Linked DNA regions of Homo sapiens: region 1 is linked to region 2. The links are contacts of gene promoters, found by promoter capture Hi-C in blood cells and fetal thymus (Javierre and others, 2016). All regions are on one chromosome and are shown on one strand. Each heading gives the region's core, a stretch centred on a gene start or on the middle of the fragment in contact. The rest is flanking DNA. Distances are from core to core; before and after follow the strand shown. Region 1 has its middle 29 kb from the start of PTPRQ. Region 2 holds the start of CCDC59 (coiled-coil domain containing 59).

Region 1 (6,732 bases), core at 2,311-4,810, 1.9 Mb before region 2:
GAAGACATCTTTTTTTGTCATAGCCTTGGGTGGAAAATAAATTTATCTTTATTTATCATAAGATAAACAAATTATCACATGAATATTAGTTCACCCAGTTTTTTTTAGTAACACTAGACCCAACGAACAGGTCTGCATATTTTAATCAGTTTTACTTGGTTCTTTATTTTCTCACACTGTGTAATGTATTGACCTCTAGGGGGCAGTCTCATACTAGCATTTTTGGCAAATGCATTTCTACCCTCCTCTTAACCTCCACATAGCAGTTTTTGAATCCTTGTCCAGAACATAATCATTAAAGTAATCGATTGTTTTAATTAATAATTCTATTTATTCCATAAAATATAAGGACGTATTTTTAAAAAGATAAAACATTATCTTACAAAACAATGCATAATTAAGCACATTTTGGCAATATATTCTTATAAGTGTAGTGTGTGTTGTGTATTTGACATGCAGTGTGCAAAGTTCTTTGGAATTTCAACAGCTAAAATTTAAACACCCTAGAGCTGAAGTAGGTGGAATGGAAAACCTGCATGTGCACAGATATAGATTAATTAACCTTCCTATACTTATTGGGAATATTTAAGATTCTTTGAAAATAATAACAATAATAGATACAATTTAATGCTTACTAAAAACCAATGCTTAACATACAAGTATTCAGTATTGCAAATCCTAATAAAAATATTTTTCCAATTGGATAGTAGCAGGTGTTTTCTCTTCTCCAAACTCAGACTAAGTATCCTTCCATTGGCAAATGCTTGGTTTGTTGGGTCCTTTACACTTTAGGAAGGTGCTTTCATTTTTAATTGACAGATGGACTAGGAGGATTTCTCACAGATTTATTAATTTTGAAGTCGACTTAAAATCTTCTAGGAAATATACCTATTTATTTCATAAAAGGTACAATGTGAATCAGCACTTTTAATTTTTTGGGGAGTCATTTGCTGTGTATTTTTACTGTAAGCTGATATACCAGTGCATGTCCAGGATTTAGTAATCCAGTGTTCCTTTACTCTCTAAAGCTTGAGGAATTATTCTTTTTTTCATTCATTATTCACTCAATGAATTATTTTTCAGTATCAGGAACTGAGCTAGGCACTAGAGATACAAAGATGAAGAAGACCTAGTCTCAGTAAGAATGAGACAAATAAGTTAACAGTGATAGTGCCGCATTATAATTGCCATTAGAGTAGTTATGCTGTGGATACTATGGGAACATAGAGAAGGATCAGTTAGCCCAAACTCAGGGTGCCGATGGTCATGGGTAAGTGATGGGCTTAATCATGAAGGAGTAGAAATTAGCCAGCAGGTGACAGTAGGGAGGCAGAAAGATGCTGCAGGTAGAGCAAGCAGCATGTGCCTAGGCAAAGGACAGAGAAAAGACATTCAACAAAGCTGACCTAGGAAAGCTAGAGAAGCCTTTTTGAAGACACTAACATTTGAACATTAGGAATGGCTAGAGAACAGAGGGGCACGTAGGGAGAGTCTAGAAAATGTAAGCTAGGCACAGAATGTGAACACCCTTGATACATACTCTGGAGTATATTTTATTTAGTAACACTGAACCTTTTTGGGGTCATGGAGCCTCTTGAGAATTTAAAAAAAATTAACTCTTATGAAAATGCAAATACATGCACAGACAATTTTGTAAGCAAATTCAGCGCTATCACAGACCCACCAAATCCCAGCGTTTCCTCAATCTCTGCTTATATGTGGCATTCGGTAGATTACATCTAAGTCCTCCACTGCAGTAAATGTTTAAATAGATTTTTAGGTTTTGCAAGAATATAAGAATAATTTTCTGAAGTTGTTTCACCCTGGAATCTTATTGGATAGTGTTTCTAATTGGATTACTCTGGCATTTTCTGATAATTTTACATAAATAATTAACTTAAACATCAGCTACAGTTTTGTGAAATTAAGATATGGGATGCAGACTAAGGGTTCCACCCAGAATATTTTCCTGAGAAGTTAAAATGTGATATTAAATTGTACTGATAAAGAAGTCAACTTTAAAACGGATAAAAGTTCAAATAATAGTTTCGGCAAACTATAAAAATCATAGAGAATTCTTTAAAGATTTTTAAAGTAAAACTACTAAAAAGTTTAAAATTGCATAATTATCCTTAGAGATATGAACTAATGATTATTGTAGCTGAGAACTATTAAAAGATCAGGAAAAACATACTATAGGATAAACAATACTATAAGGAAAACATTTACAATTTCCAGAAAACTGTATGATAGGAAAAAAATCAGAAGGCTTGGTATTCAAGGAAACGGTGCAAGGAAATAGGCTGAAGTATCATCTTCAGTTATTATTATAAAGTATCAAGAAGATTCTCCAATGATATTATGCATGAACAGTGAGCATAACCTGCTAATTTCCTCTATATTTCTAATAAATATCACACCTTTCAAAAATCAGAAAAGTAGTATAAAGTTACAACTGTTTTATAATAAATACCAGCTCTGAAACTTTAAAGACATCTATATGTCAATGACTCATAAAGTTATATCTCTATATAACTTTATATAAAGCCTAGACTTTTGTCCCAAACTCCACATTCAAACATCTAACTGCGTATGCATTATTGCTCATTTGGTTATCTATGAGATGTTTTAAATTTAACATGCCCAAAACTGAACTCCAGGTGTTTCTACCCAAATCTGCTTTATCCACAGCCCTTCTCAGTTCATGGTAATTTTATTCATCCAGTTGTTTAGTCAAAAGCCTTGAAGTTGTTCTTGACTCTTCTGTTTCTCTCACAACCCATTCCCAACCTGTCAAGAAATCTTGTTTGTTCTGTCTTCAAAATAAATCCAGAGTCACACTATATCTCCCCACCTCCCTGAGTGCTGTTTTCATCCAGGCAACCATTCCACCTCACCTGGATTATTGGGCTGGCTCCCTATTTCTACCACTGGCCCTCCATGTGGTCTGTTATTAATGTCACGGCCCAAGTGAGTCTTTAAAAATAGGAATGATCATGCATCTGCATATAACTCAGTAGTTGCTACCCATTTGACTTGGAGCAAACGCCTTTGAGAACTTGCATGAACTGGCTTTCTATTTGCCTCTGACCTCATCTTATTCTCTCCTTCATTCATTCTAGCTTTCCTTCCACCCTTGAACACACCAGATAAGCTCCCACTTTAGGGATTTTACTAGCTGTTTCTTCAGCTTTAATACTCTTCTTCCAGAAATCCATATGTCTAACTCTCCAATCTCCTTCACCTTTTTGCTGAAAACCCTATCTTTTGAAAAACATCTGCCCTGAAATCCCTACTTCATACCACAACTTCCTCCTTAAAGCCACCACACTCTTCATCTCCCTCACCCTGGTTACTTTTTACTTTTTCTGCAGCACTTATCACCTCTGAAGTTCTATATAACATACGTACTTATTTTATGTATTGCTATTATCTATTCCACCTATTAGAATATGAACTCCATAAGGACAAGGATCTTTAGTTTTTACTGATGTACTCTACCTGCCTAGAAGAGTGCCTGGCACTTGGTAGGTGCCCATATATATTTGATTAAAACATGAATAATCTCAATAATGGGAACATTACTCTGATGGCACTCTTGAAAGTATGAAGAATTTGCCAAACACTTGAGGATTATATTTGTTTCCCCTTGACTTGTAATTTTTACATTTAACCATTTTAATAAATTTTGCATAGTAATAAGAATACACTTTTCTCAAAACTTGAGTGCTTTTCAAGACATGTTGACATAACAAACTGTAAAATTTACTTTGAACATTAATATTGAATTATTTTCACTCAATAGCATGAATAATGCTAACTAATAAGCTAAGATGTGTGTATGTATTTATTTGTTTACTTAAGGTATTAATCCACCTCAGAAAGTTTATGTAAAACCTGAAGATGTGGGAGAAGACCATATAATTCTTCAGTGGGAACCTTCACAAGATGGCCATGAGATCTACATTCAGATTAAATCCATATCAGATCCAAGTGAAGTCATGAATAGATTCAAGATTGATAATTTAATCCCTGGAAGTAGGAAGTCCAAGATGGGCTGCTTGCGATGAATGAAGAAAGGGAGAAACTTAGGCTTTTAACTTGAGTAATTTGGGTGCTTGGTGATGACACTGAAGAAGAGAAAATTATTGGACCTTACAGTGATTCTAGCTGAAAAAAAAAATTGGTCCAAAAAATTATGCAATGATAATGTCCACACTCAACCAGTGCTAGATCTTCCTATTTTATCATCCAAAGACTAAAACTAAATTTATGTCTGGAACTTCCATGCTTAAATTTCTAAGAAAACTACCTAAAGATAATTATAATAAGAAGTAGTTATAAAAGAGAAAACTAAGAAAGAGATATTACCAAGAAGAATTATTTAATGCCTATAAAACAACCCACTAAATAATTATTGGCATAGCAGTAGGAGTAAACTGTGAAGTTGGAAAATGATTTTTCTCCTTAGTTCATGTTTTAGCAGTCTGAGGTTAGAGAATGTCCCCATGTTATCCCAGGGTCTGTTTTCTTTCTCAAAAACTTGAGACATTTAATATATTATTTCTAAATTTCCTTCCAGGTCAAAATCAAAAGCCTCATAATTCTTTGCCTCCAGGGTACTTAGCATATTTCATCCATCTGCCATCTAAAATGTAAACTTGTTTTGCCTCTGTTTCTAGAGCTCTTGTGAAATCTTGTTCAGCTGCGTATCTCCAGCCTAAATAGAGTTCCTAGCTCTATGTAATTCAATTGTTTGTCAAACTGGTATTCAACATGGATGCAGAAACACATATTAACATGCAAATCCTAAGAAGAATAGCATTCTGGGGTTTGAAGTTAGGACAGAGATCTTGCCAATGCTCTCATATGATATATAATTCCCAGGACAGTGTCTCTGGTCATTCAGGGCTTCTGTAATTCATTTCCAAAATTTTCCCCATCATGGACCTAGTCTACTCTCTAGAACATCACAAAGCAAACCCAATCTATGGTTCACACGACAGGCTGCAAATGTTTAGAGACATTCATATGGTGTCCCTGGTTCCTATATTTTCTTTCCCTGTGGGTAATTATCTTTAATTCCTTCAAGCACTCCACTATTTCTCGTGGGTGTTCTATCCAGTTCGTAGGCTTGCTATCAGATTTAGCATCACCAGATTATTTATCAGGCATCATTTGTATTGCCTCAAAAATCCTAAAGCAAATAGTAACCTGTCCCAAGGTGCATAGGAACAAGTTTTTTTGCATGCATTCATTCAACAGATATTTATTGATACATATAATTTACCACATTGTATTTCTCTCTCTGCCATATACTTTGAAATAGTCAAGCAAGAGAGGCATTTGCCTTTTATGGGCATGTAGAAGAAAATATAATTTACACATACTTTTTTTTCCCTTTCCCCTTTGAAACTTATCTGTCTGTGCCTCTCTCTAATTTGTCCTGAACATAACCAGCAGAACTTGATCTCTAGCTATGATTGTGCACCTGAACCATAAAATGTGCCCTTAGGAAGAAGGCAGTGCTTATGAGCACAGACCATGGAAACAAATTGCCTGGGTTTGTATTCCAGCTCCATGATTTAGCAGCTTCTTACATCCTTTGCAAAGTCACTCAGGCCCTTTGGGTCCTCAGCTTCTTTCTCTCTAAAATGGGAATAATAATCATAATCTTATCTGTTTTATGAAAGTAATGTAATTTAAGGACTTGGTGCCTGGCACCAAATAAGTGCTATGACAGTGTGTGTTGTGATTTTTATTTCTCAATAGGAGTGGAGTGGTGGCCTTGGGGAGCTATGGCCATGCATAGTGGGAAGTAAAGCCATTTCAGCAGTCTGTGTGATCTCTCTTTGTTGGAGGAATTAACTATACCCAGGTTTTCTTGAGGGAAAAAGAACTATTGGAGAGTTGGTGTTTGAATTTCCTTTTTTCCCCTCTTGACACAGGAGAATACATTTTATGATAGGAGCATCCCTCAGACTTTGTTCTACCTTGCCTATAATAAAAGGCTTTGAAATTGGCCTAGTTCAGTTCACCTCATACTGAAAAAAAAATCTTGTATAGCCCCTGATCTTACCACTTCTTTTGATAAAGCTTTTACAGGAGAGCGGATAAGGATAGAAATCACAGTCCGAGGTAGAAACTTGACGAAAGTCGCCAGTATGTGGCAATATGTTTCTTTTATTCTTTTTTTTGTGAAATCTTTTCTCATATGATTTTTCCAGATCAGGATATAATTTTTAAGACAAGACAGAACTCTGTCCTATTCTACACCTTTCCAGCCTTGGTGATTATAGTGTCATGCATGACACAGCTTGGCTTATTTTCTAGGACAGGTGGAAATGATCGAAAATCCCATGCTTACTCACTAGAGGGGATGACATTGATTTTTACATACTTTTAGAACCTACATTAGACCATGCCTATTTAAAGTCACCTCTCTTTTTAGAAAATGTCTTCAGTGCCCAAGAACATGGAAGTGAATTGGTTCTATGATTATACTTGTCACTCATTTACCATCCCAAGATCTTTTAATTCCTGCTTAAGCCATACTTGGAAGCTTTCATAGATCATTGTCCACAGATTCAGATGTATTAGATATGTGTGGGATGTTACTCTTGTCTTGGGAAACTCATAGTTACTGTAGGACTTTTATAACTGAAGGGGGCTATGCAGAATTTAAAGAGAAAACCCACAGAAAATATTAGTGATGACGGAAAAATAAAAGTT
Region 2 (6,334 bases), core at 3,250-5,749:
TTACAACAAAATGACAATTTTGTTGAGGCTGTGGGTAATTCTGTATTCATTTGAAAAAAGCCTAATTCTGGTCTACAATTCTGGTTTTCTAAATAATAGAGTGCTAACTTTTGCTAAGCTAAAATAATAGTTGTTTTTTTTTTTTAAACAGGCAAGAACACCTCTTTATAGTAAAAAAGTATTTTATTCTAACACCTCCCCTTTGCTTTTACTTTCTTCAATGTAATGTTATGAAAATCATCTATATTTTTCTTAGGTCAGTGGTTCTCAAGTTTTATCATACATAAAAATCTTTTGAGGTGCTTGTTAACAAGTGCAAGTTCCTGGACCAAACTCAGTGAAACTTTGTCCCAGATGTTCACAATATTGACCTATAAACAATGTGTTCAAAATCCTATTTTTGACCTACTAGTATTGCTTGACATAATACAAGCAAGGACTTGGAATAAGATGCAATCCTCTACCTTTGCTCAGACTACTCATTCATTCAACAAATATTTACAGAGAGAATACTGTGTGCCCAGCACCAAGAAGCACAACAGGTATAGTATATATATTTAGGATAAATAAGAAAAACTATACTAAATATTTTCAAAGTAGAACTTACTTGTTTCTTAGCAGCACGTTTGGCTTGTATCTGTTCATATTCTTCTTGTGCTTTTTGATTTGATGTTTTCTTTTTATTTTTCTTTGGAATTGTAAAGGAGCTTTTAATTGGGGGATGAGGAAACAGGACTTTATTAGTAAAATGTCCAAAAAGGTATTAAAAACACAGTTGTAGCTTTTAAGAGTATATATTAAATAAAAGGCACAAATGGGGATTCTTAGAGAAATATTTCAACTAGGAAAAAATATAGAAAGCTATGAAAAATCCTAAAATGTTAAAAAAAAAAACTTTTAAAAGTAATGAAACCAGTATATGAATGATAGAAATGCCAGACTGAAAAAAGAATTAAACTTGTTGTTTAAGGATGTTAAGAAAATTATGTGTATATATGAACTTTAATCTCGAAGTTTTCTGAGCCCCTCCTCTCTATTCCATTTTACCTACCTAGTCATGAATCACCATACCTTGGATCTAGATACCATTTTGAACTGTTCTATCTTTAACTACTTCTCACCTCTCTGAAGATGTCCTTTTTGTCAAGGCTAATCCAACTACTTGGAATTCCATTCATTTCCTCAGCATCCTTGATTCAGTAATAACTTTACTTTCCTCTATCATTCAACTTTTCACTATACTCTGTAACTACAATATAATATTTTAATAGCTACTAATCACTAGCGACTTTGGACTAGTGACTAGTGACTGCCTAGTCCACAAATCCAGAGACCTGTCCTCAGTCCTATTCACCTTCAACTTTATAGTACAGTAGCACACCCCTTATCCATGGTTTCCCTGTTCCACGGTTTCAGTTACCTGCAGTCAACAGAGGTCCAAAAATATTAAATTGAAAAATTCCAGAAATAAACAATTCATATGTTTTAAATTGTACACCACACTGAGTGTTTGCTTTAAGTGAAAAGGTAAAAGTTCTTGACTTAATAAGGAAGGAAAAAAAATCGTATGTTGAAGTTGCTAAGATCTATGGTTTTAAAAAAAATCTTCTATACATCAAATTGTGAAGGAAAAATAAATTCATGCTAGTTTTGCTGTCATACTTCAAACTGCAAAAGTTATGGCCACAGTACGTGATTTAAGATGGAAAAGGCATTAAATTCCCAAGTAAAAGACATTAACAGAAATACATTCCAATTGACAGAAACTGGGTTTGGTACCATTTGCAGTTTCAGGGCATCCACTGGGGGTCTTGGAACATCTTCCAAACAGATAACGGGGGACCACAATATTTGATAGCTGACTAATCCCTCACAACTTTTCTCTGTGGACTGAGCTGTCACTGTATTTCTCTTTCTCCAGTCCTGAAAAGCTTAACTTCCTCAATGACAATATTTTCCCTGTTTCCACCCCAAAATAAACCGTAATCTTTAAAAGCATGATTTTTTACCTTCCTTTCTCATGATTTAAACTTCCTTACTTCAATTATCAGAGAATAACTCAAATCTACATTTCTACTGCTAATCTTTTCCCTGAACTTTATACTGATTATTTAACAATATAATGATCAAGCCTACCAAAAGTAGTAAACTTTTTGTGTCTCTGCCTTCATCCCCAATTACATTTTTACCCCCCGTGGTCCCATTTCCTGTTATTTTTAGCGCAAATAGCTCACGACTTTAAAAGATACGGTTTTAATGAAGTAAAAAATTATGCTCCCAAGTTAATACCCAGCTTCTTGCAATTTTAGATTTTAGCATTGTTTTTTAACTTTAAGTATGCAGCGATAGTTTTTTATAAGTTAACTCTTATAAAACCAAAGCGTCACGGAGCTGTGCATTTGCAATTGCAACCCATTTCTGGTCCTCTGCAGAAAATCCAGATTAATAGTAGTAGCTAACGCTCAAGAGCACTAACCACGTACCATATATACCCTTTAAGATCCTCATATACATTAACTCGCTGAGTCTTCACAACAATGTCATGAAACACCTTAGGAACACCTGAGTTTATGTGAGTAATCCATTCTGGAGCTGTGCAACATGGCAGCTCTGAAGTATATATTCATTACAGTATTATCTTTCCCAATTTAAAGAGGACATAGTGTTATTTTTCCCATTTTAAAGAAGAGGTCACTGGGGCACTAACATGTTGAGTCTGGCTCTAGAACCCATACTGTTAATGACTAAAATTATAACACCTCTCAGAAGTTATTTTTCAAAAATATAGTCATAACATATGGTCCAATCAAGTTACCACCTGTACTTGAGAGGAAGAAACCCAAATTCCAGAGCTCTTAATTCCCATTACGTTACTTTGTCAATTAGGCTAAACCAGCCTAATTCAGTTATTGAAGCTAAAAATAGAGCCTCCATGAAAATGTTTCCCTAATTAAACCGTGACTTCTAAAATGTGTTAAATAAGAAAAAATACAATTCCTATATAAATTATCCTATAGTACTTTTAAATAATAAAACAACACTTAAAGGATTTCAAATGAAGAAAATACATACTTTACTGTTTTAATACATTGTTCTTCTGGCTGAGGCTGGTCAAAGCTACACTGATCTTCAAATAAAGGCTCGTCAATGCTACACTGTTCTTCAAGCAACGGCTGGTGAACTTGTTCTGACAAAGGATGGTCGACTTTTCTTGCTTGCTTCCTATGTCTTTCCTCTTCAGCTAAATAGAGATGTTTCAGATTATCTGGGTATCGATCTGTGAATTGAGATTCCAGTGACGTTTGAGCCTTCTTTTCCTTCCGTAGCAATTTCTTGTAACTTTGCTGTATTTTCAGTTTTCTTCGAAAAGCAAAGCCTTGTCCTACATTGAGGAATATCATCCAAAATTACTTTCAGAGAAAAGAAGTTGAACGAAGAATGGAGCTGTTAATTACAAATGAAAACTTTTTTTACGTCATCACATTCAGATTCTAGTATTATATTTTGCTTTAAAAAATTATTTCAAGCAACAAATTTAAGCTGATGGATTGCATAGTAAGTTGGCCCTTTGCAAAAAGACCAGGCTAACAGTCATGCGGAAATCCAAGTAAGAATCTCAAAGAAAAACTGACCAGTTCAGACTGTTGCACAACTTGAGTTTACAGCTGTATTCACAAATCAAAACAAATTCCTTAGTTCATCTAAAACACTTAATCTGAGCCTTCAATAAATGCTTAAAAAATAGGAAAGAAAATGCCACATCTAGTATCTTGGACAAACTACATGTTTTCGAAAATGTTTCAACACGAAAGAAAAAGACAGTGTATGGTTGTCTGAAAAGCTAGCAATTATCGGAAGACTGAATTTAACATTTATATATTCCAAGTGGGATCTAAGAGACCTTACAGACAGCAATACAAAATGACAAACACAAATTAAAGCGAAGGCTGGAGGGCCTCGGGTATTTGTAATAAGGAAGAATTCGGAGCAGTGTTTCTGGCCCTGTCCTCCTCTCTATCCTTTACCTTACCACATGCGCAAGAGTTCACAGGGTCATAGACTCTCTCTGCTCAGTTTCTCAGGAAAAATATAGGAAAAAAGTTCTGATGAAATACAGGGTTACGTCAGAAAAGACGTTTAAATAATAGCAACACTGCTCCGTCTTCCTATCTAGAGCTCTGCGAAGCTCACAGCTTTAGCGGGCTCAGGAATGAATTCCCTTGCCCCAAGTAGGACCGGGTCTGGTTCCTAAATCCTTCTTCCAAGCTTCAGCGAATCTTATATCCTAAAACTTAGCAAGCCTGAGGATTTGCAAATGGTTGCCTTCTTACATACCCTCGCGAACGCTCCCCACGAAGGCTTGCGGGTGGTTAGGCCGCCATGTCTTCTGTCTCACATTCTTATTCCTGTACCCGACAGTGGAAACCCCTTCACCACGCGCCTCAATACCACCAGGCCGCCACTTCGCGGACCGCCTCACCGGCGCCATTGCAGCCGACTAACTGCGTCATCAGAAGACCACGACGGACGCCCACAAAATACGTCACCAAGCCGAAGCAATCAATCGCTCAGAAGGAATCCGGCTCGGAGCTCTACTGAGCCTGCCTGTGCTAATTTGGGCCGAGCTGGCGCCTCACGGCCATGTTTGCGCCACCTACAGCCTCGGAGGGTGAGCGTCATGGCGGCTTCTTGCCCTCTCCCGGTGACCCCGGACCTGCCCACGCTGCGTGCCAAGTTGCAGGGACTGCTGCAGTTCCTGAGGGATGCCCTGTCCATTTCCAATGCACATACCGTGGATTTCTACACAGAATCCGTGTGGGAGGAGCTGGTCGACTTGCCACCGGAGACAGTGCTGGCTGCGCTGAGGAAGTCAGCGTCGGAGACGGAGGCCCTGCCCTCAGAGACGCGCCCCCTAGTGGAAGCAGAGTGGGAAGCAGGTGGGTGGTGGGGTAGGCGGGGCGGGAAGGGAGGCGGAGGAGAAGGTCCCGGCAGACGAAGCGAGCCCCCTGGTGGAAGCCAGCAGAACCAGGTGCGTGGCGGCGGAGGCGGGGCGGCCCGCTGGGAAACCGAGGAGGGGTCGGATTAGTTGAGGGGTGGGGTGGGGATGTTCTTTGGAATCAGGATCACTCTTTCTTTGGGTGCTTGTGTATGTCCACAATTTAAAGAAAGCAGGAAACAGGGCAGGGGAGTTCCTTCATCTAGTAATTCCATAATAATTGACGCTAGGGAAACTAGGGGAGCAGTGCTCTCACAGGTTTTATAAATGCCAGCATGTGGTGGAAGATTACTCAACAGTTAATAAAGATAATTTCAAGTGGTGGTAATGAAGTAGAAAATAAAAACAGTGTAATGTGGTAGGGATTGTGTAAGGAGGCTGCCTCAATTTAGGAGGTCAGGAACATGAGAAGGCACTAGCTGCAGAGCCACAGGGAGGGGTTGCAGGCGGTGGGAACCGCAGGCTAGGCTTGGCTCTAGCCAGGTGAGGGGCTGCAGGTGCAGGACGGGAGGCAAGCAGAGGCCAGATGGCACAGGCCTTTCTAGGCCTTGGAAGGATTTTGGATTTTAAGTGTGACGGAAACCCTTGGGATTATTTAGGCAACATAGTGACCTAATTCACATTTGAAAAGATAACTGTGAATTATTTGAAGAATAGACTAGGGCAAAAGCTGAAGCTGAGAGGCCAGTTAGGAGACTACCTCAGTAGTACAACAGATGATTGTATCTTGGACTAGGATGGTATTCGGATAGTCACTATTTCATTTAAAAACTATTTTAAAGTACCTAATATGTGTCTTGAATTTTTGTAGGCTCAAGCTTTTCCTACCCTCAAGAAATGTAGATTCTTCTCAGGCAAGCATATTTTGGAAGTAGAATGATGGACACCAACAGGCTTCTGGGATTTTTACTTTCCTTCTAGACTTCCCAAAGTTACCCTTACTAGTGAACTTTATTCATTGAGCATTCTCTGAATGCAAAGCATCACTAGAGGGACCTCTTATAATAGCACTTGGTAAATACTGTTGTTGTTTTTTTAAGTAATTGTTATTGAAAAGTTAGGCACTTCTTCAGTTTGCTCTCATAATAAATATATGGCACTTATGATATGACAATTTTACTTAAACTCCAAAAGAGCAGAGTCTTTGTCTGACTTGTCAACTGATGTATTCCCAGCACTTGGTAAAATACTTGGCATACATTAGATACTGGATGAATATTTGTTGAATGGAGGAATTAATGAGTTACTCATGTTAGTTTTAAATAAATAAAATGAAACTACTCTCAAGTTTAGAGTGTAAGACTTTAATACGTGTTTAGCCTGGTCTCCAGACAATGG

What was found. The method cuts DNA at HindIII sites, captures the fragments that hold promoters and counts their contacts. A CHiCAGO score of 5 or more calls a contact.
Region 1: a fragment that was not itself captured here is called in contact with the fragment with the promoter of CCDC59 in region 2 in 2 of 17 cell types (neutrophils and total B cells); the score reaches 7.8 in neutrophils.

Annotation. Positions count from the first base shown.
Region 1 is chr12:80,412,349-80,419,080 of GRCh38, forward strand. No RefSeq gene overlaps it. Among named protein-coding and RNA genes, the nearest start is that of PTPRQ, 29 kb to the right of the region's middle. The HindIII fragment of the contact is 5,068 bases long and covers 1,027-6,094 here.
Region 2 is chr12:82,353,888-82,360,221 of GRCh38, forward strand. It overlaps CCDC59 (coiled-coil domain containing 59), which reads right to left and starts at 4,500. Exons shown (of 4, transcript NM_014167.5): 1 at 4,336-4,500; 2 at 3,073-3,382; 3 at 608-707. The coding sequence starts at 4,489. METTL25 (methyltransferase like 25) reads left to right here and starts at 4,642. Exons shown (of 12, transcript NM_032230.3): 1 at 4,642-4,937. The coding sequence starts at 4,679. RefSeq lists enhancers at 4,309-4,869, 4,380-4,939, 4,870-5,430. The HindIII fragment of the contact is 1,548 bases long and covers 4,265-5,812 here.